Linked DNA regions of Homo sapiens: region 2 is linked to region 1. Evidence: promoter capture Hi-C in human tissues and cell types (Jung and others, 2019). All regions are on one chromosome and are shown on one strand. Each heading gives the region's core, a stretch centred on a gene start or on the middle of the fragment in contact. The rest is flanking DNA. Distances are from core to core; before and after follow the strand shown.

The links. Contacts are between HindIII fragments. The study calls those that stand out against the background at their distance.
Region 2: a contact is called between a fragment that was not itself captured here and the fragment with the promoter of ESPL1 in region 1, in 10 of the 25 tissues and cell types used here (IMR-90 fibroblasts, aorta, bladder and 7 more).

Annotation. Positions count from the first base shown.
Region 1 is chr12:53,266,959-53,269,726 of GRCh38, forward strand. It overlaps ESPL1 (extra spindle pole bodies like 1, separase), which reads left to right and starts at 1,341. Exons shown (of 31, transcript NM_012291.5): 1 at 1,341-1,419; 2 at 1,797-1,889; 3 at 2,066-2,768. The coding sequence starts at 1,809. RefSeq lists enhancers at 1,278-1,647, 1,708-1,787. The HindIII fragment of the contact is 10,197 bases long and covers 1-2,526 here.
Region 2 is chr12:53,340,582-53,343,349 of GRCh38, forward strand. It overlaps a transcript of SP7 not described here. Among named protein-coding and RNA genes, the nearest start is that of SP7, 5.6 kb to the left of the region's middle. The HindIII fragment of the contact is 4,818 bases long and covers 1-2,768 here.

The sequences.
Region 1 (2,768 bases), core at 91-2,590:
TGGCCAGGATTGTCTCGATCTCCTGACCTCGTGATCCGCCCGCCTCGGTCTCTCAAAGTGCTGGGATTACAGGCGTGAGCCACCGCGCCCGGCCTTTTTTTTGGTTTTCTTTTTTGAGACAGAGTCTTGCTCTGTCACCCAGACTGCAGTACAGTGGCGGGATCTCAGCTCACTGCAACCTCCGCTTCCCGGGTTCAAGCGATCCTCCCAAGTAGCTGGGACTACAGGCCCCCGATGCCACAGCAGCTAATTTTTGTATTTTTAGTAGAGATGGGGTTTCACCATGTTGGTCAGGCTGGTTCTCAAGTGATCCACCCACCTCGGCCTCCTAAAGTGCTGGGATTATAGGCGTGAGCCACCGCGCCCGGCCTTCTTTTCTTTCTTTTTACAAAAATAATCTTCCCTGCTAGATTCTCAACTCATAAAAGAGCTCTATGATGATGGAGAAGGATGAGTTATCCAGTAGAGTTCATCAGCGACAAGCTGATAACCACTTTTGAGCTGAATTCTTTGGTGGAGGAAGGAAAGAGACAGCTGAATCTGTGTTTGGGGAAGTGGTTAGTACTTAAAAACATAAGCCATTAAAGACTGTGAAATATCCCAGGGAATGAATTTCCATAGTTCTTCCTGCTACTCACAACTCCCACCCCACCCCACTACCCTCTCTCCCCCATCGAAGAGCACCAGATCTTGTCTTTCTCATACAACCAATAGAAGGAGTAAGGCTGGAAGGCAGAGAGAGAGCTGGAGGTCGCTACGGGTACTCATTGTAGTTCCCCTAGAAAACCATCTTTAAAATAATTTCGTAGGAAGTTGGGCGTGGCGGTGCACGCCCGTAGTCAGCACTTTGGGAGGCTGAGGTGGGAGGATCACTTAAGCCCGGGAGTTTGAAGCTGCAGTGAGCTGTGATCACGCCACTGCACTCCAGCCTGTGTGTCAGAGCAAGACCCTATCAAAAAAAAAATTCGTAGAAGTCTAAGCCCTTTTTTTCTAGTAACCCAAACCGCGTGAGTTCCTAAGTTCTTTTTGTTATTTCTCTTCTCTTGAAACTTAAACTCTTGCCTGAGCTCTGAAGATAAAGGAGGAAAAGGGGTGGCATTACCGATAGCGACTAAGCGACAGGTAGCTGAGAAACTGAGCTCTGACTGGAAAAAAGGGGGAAACCCGCACCCCCAAGAGGCCCTAACGCGCAGAGCAGCAAGACCCTCCGGGGCGCCGCGGGAGCGCGCAGCGCGGCGGGTAAACTACAACTCCCAGCGTGCCGCGCGCCCGGCGTTGCGCCGCGCCCGCTGATTGGCAGCCGCGGATATTTGAAAGGAGGGTCTGGCGCGGAAAACGAAGGTTACATTTTGGATCCTCGCGGAGTACTGGTCAGGCGGTTAAGTCCTGTACCTAGGAAAGAGGGCGAGCTCTGGGGCGGTAAGGCCGGAAGGGACTCGTGAGCGTGGGTACGTGCTGAAGTGAAGGGGATCCCCAGCGCTGACGCGAGGAGAGGCGTGGGTGGCTCCTGGAGGGAGTGTCGGGAGGCCTTGGGACTGCCCCGGGCCGCTGAAGGGCTGGGCCGAGGCCTCTGGGGTAGCGCGGCGAGTGGTGTGGTAGTGCGGTCGGGGATCTGCCCGGAGGAAGGAAGAGCGGAATCGTCCTTTTATAACGGGAGCACGGCGTCCTGGCGTGGGTTTTCTCCCCGATGAAATTTCTGATGTGATTCTTTGCCTCCTTCCACGACCTTCAGCCCTCTTCCCTTCCTCCAGTTAGCTTCATTAACAATCTTCTCTAATTGGTCTCCTTTTCCCTAGCTCTCCGGTGTCATGAGGAGCTTCAAAAGAGTCAACTTTGGGACTCTGCTAAGCAGCCAGAAGGAGGCTGAAGAGTTGCTGCCCGCCTTGAAGGTGGGGGTGCTGCCTGGCTCGGGATACACCTGGCTTTCCAAACTGAGCTGTTTTGTGTTTGCCTTTTGAAGAGATGGATAAGTAGGCGACCCTCTCTGAGTAACCCTATTTCTAGTTACTTTCTCTACCTCTTTCCTGCCTTTGCTAGCCCCATTCATATCTTTCTCTACTCCTAGGAGTTCCTGTCCAACCCTCCAGCTGGTTTTCCCAGCAGCCGATCTGATGCTGAGAGGAGACAAGCTTGTGATGCCATCCTGAGGGCTTGCAACCAGCAGCTGACTGCTAAGCTAGCTTGCCCTAGGCATCTGGGGAGCCTGCTGGAGCTGGCAGAGCTGGCCTGTGATGGCTACTTAGTGTCTACCCCACAGCGTCCTCCCCTCTACCTGGAACGAATTCTCTTTGTCTTACTGCGGAATGCTGCTGCACAAGGAAGCCCAGAGGCCACACTCCGCCTTGCTCAGCCCCTCCATGCCTGCTTGGTGCAGTGCTCTCGCGAGGCTGCTCCCCAGGACTATGAGGCCGTGGCTCGGGGCAGCTTTTCTCTGCTTTGGAAGGGGGCAGAAGCCCTGTTGGAACGGCGAGCTGCATTTGCAGCTCGGCTGAAGGCCTTGAGCTTCCTAGTACTCTTGGAGGATGAAAGTACCCCTTGTGAGGTTCCTCACTTTGCTTCTCCAACAGCCTGTCGAGCGGTAGCTGCCCATCAGCTATTTGATGCCAGTGGCCATGGTCTAAATGAAGCAGATGCTGATTTCCTAGATGACCTGCTCTCCAGGCACGTGATCAGAGCCTTGGTGGGTGAGAGAGGGAGCTCTTCTGGGCTTCTTTCTCCCCAGAGGGCCCTCTGCCTCTTGGAGCTCACCTTGGAACACTGCCGTCGCT
Region 2 (2,768 bases), core at 75-2,574, 74 kb after region 1:
TGACTCATCTCTCCCTCTGTGGAGCTCCCCAACCACAGGGGCCTGGAAGAGAAGCTTGGAAAGTTGCGCTCATGTCCCGGGCCCCTGGTCTGGCCACTACCCGCCCATGCACCCAGCCCAGCCCTTGTCTCCAGTGGATACTCCAGCGACAGAGAACATAGAGGGGACAGGAAAGAAGAAGGCACGCAGAGACAGGGAAACAGAAAGACACAGGAGAGACAAAGAGGAAACAACAAATGGTGGGCATACAGATGAGAGACCCTGAGGATCAGCTACTAGTCTGTTGGGTCCTCTAAGAGCAATGGGGCTGATGACCAGGAAAGCTTGCTCCTTGGGTTGAAGGAACATCCATTCATGGCCTCAGGATTTAGAGACTGCCGAGTGCCTTGACCCAGCATTTCTGACACTAGGCTCAGGGTACTTGGGGAAGAGGATCCAATTTTAGGAGGCAAAGCTGAGGACACAGGGTAGAAAGGAAGCTTTTAAGAGGCTGGCAACCTTTGTATAGGACAGCTTGGAAAAGGAGTTCCTCACCCCAACAAATATGTACACAAATTTACAGGTACAGACAGACTACAACTTCCCTCCCTCTCTGCTAGGTCTCCCCATCCCCTCTTCCAGCACCAGGGCTGCAAGGCAGGACCTCTGGGACTGACTCTGGCTCCCCTCTTCCCTGAGCCTTGGGTTCCTTCATTGACATTGAGCCCTGATATAATTCAGCAGCTTTAGGAGAGGCAGATCAGAATCAGAAACAGAAGTGCCATGGAAGGAGCAGGAAGGAATCTGGATGGCAGGGGACAAAGTGAAAAATGAAAGGAAGAGGAAGACTGGGGTCTGATTCTGAAACAAGGGGACCTGTCCTGGATGCCCGTGTCTAAAATGGGACAACATTGAATTAAGTAAGAACCTGGTCATCTCTAGAAAATGACCCTTTGTAAAAACGATACCCTAGAATCTGATCCATGAAATATACTAGTGTCTTTCATAAGAAGAAGTTGGGGTGATGGAGTTCTGATCACATCATCCCTAGGAGTGAGGCTGAGCAACTCAAGGGAATGGTCCTTCAAAATCCTAAATACAGGCCTGGTGAGGTGGCTCACACCTGTAATCCCAGCACTTTGGGAGGCCGAGGTGGGTGGATCACCTGAGGTCAGAAGTTTGAGACTAGCGTGGCCAACATGGCAAAACCCTGTCTCAGGCTGGCCGAGGTGGCTCATGCCTGTAATCCCAGCACTTTGAGAGGCTGAGGAGGGCGGATCACGAGGTCAGGAGATCGAGACCATCCTGGCTAACATGGTGAAACCCTGTCTCTACTAAAAATACAAAAAATTAGCCGGGCGTGGTGGCGGGCGCCTGTAGTCCCAGCTACTTGGTAGGCTGAGGCAGAAGAATGGCGTGACCGGGAGGTGGAGCTTGCAGTGAGCCGAGATCGCGCCACTGCACCCCAGCCTGGGCGACAGAGCGAGACTCCGTCTCAAAAAAAAAAACAAAAAACAAACAAACAAACCCTGTCTCTACTAAAAATACAAAAATTAGCTGGGTGTGGTGGCGCGTGCCTGTAATCCCAGCTACTCTGGAGGCTGAGGTAGGAGAATCACTTGAACCCAGAAGGCAGAGATTGCAGTGAGCCGAGATTGTGCCACTGCACTCCAGCCTGGAAGACAAGCGAGACTCCATTTAAAAAAAAAAAAATTCCTAAATACACACGTCTCCCCGCTTTCTCTGGCCTGCTGCATTCTTCCTCGGAGCCCAGATTTTTGAAATGTGGAATGAACTTAAAGAACATTCTTTCATTCAACAAATGTTCAGAAAGCACCTACTTTGTGCTAAGCACACTGGGCTAGACTTAGGCATGCAATAACAAGCAAGACAGACTCATCCCTTCACCTCACAAACTAACCAGCAACTAATACAAAAGAGTAGGAAGTATCTCGATAGAATAAGTACTGGAGGGCCAGGCGTGGTGGCTCACGCCTGTAATTCCAACACTGTAGGAGGCCAAGGTGGGTAGATCATAAGGTCAGGAGTTCGAGACTAGCCTGGCCAAGATGGTGAAACCCCATCTCTACTAAAAATACAAAAAAATTAGCCAGATGTGGTGGCAGATGCCTGTAATCCCAGCTACTTGGGAGGCTGAGGCAGAGAATTGCTTGAACCTGGGAGGCGGGGGTTGCAGTGAGCCAAGATTGTGCCACTGCATCCCAGCCTAGGTGACACAGAGAGACTCCGTCTCAAAAAATAAATAAATAAATAAATAATAAATAATAAAAATAAAATAAAATAAAAAATAAGTACTGGATGTTATAGGAGACAAAAGAGTAAATCTAAGCCAGTGTTGGGGGGGAATTAAGGAAGGCTTCCTGGAAGACAGCATGACTAAGTAAAGAAACTGAAGGACAAATAAGAGTTATCAAGTAAAAAAAGGAAGAGTGGTGCCAGTGCAGTGGCTCATGCCTGTAATCCCAGCACTTTGGGAGGCTGAGGTGGGTGGATCACTTGAGTCTAGGAGTTTGAGACCAGCCTGGGCAACATGACGAAACCCCATCTCTACAAAAAATACAAAAAAAAAAAAACATAGTCTGGGTGACAGAATGAGACCTTGTCTAAAAGAAAAAAAAAAGGAAGAGTGTTGTAGGAAGGGGGAAGAGTATATGCAAAGGCTCAGAGGTATGAGGGATTAACAACTTTTGAGATGCTGAAAATTGAGTGTGAGTGCAACACAGAGTGGAGGCTGATGGAGAAGTTCTAATCAGCTATGCAAGGGGCCT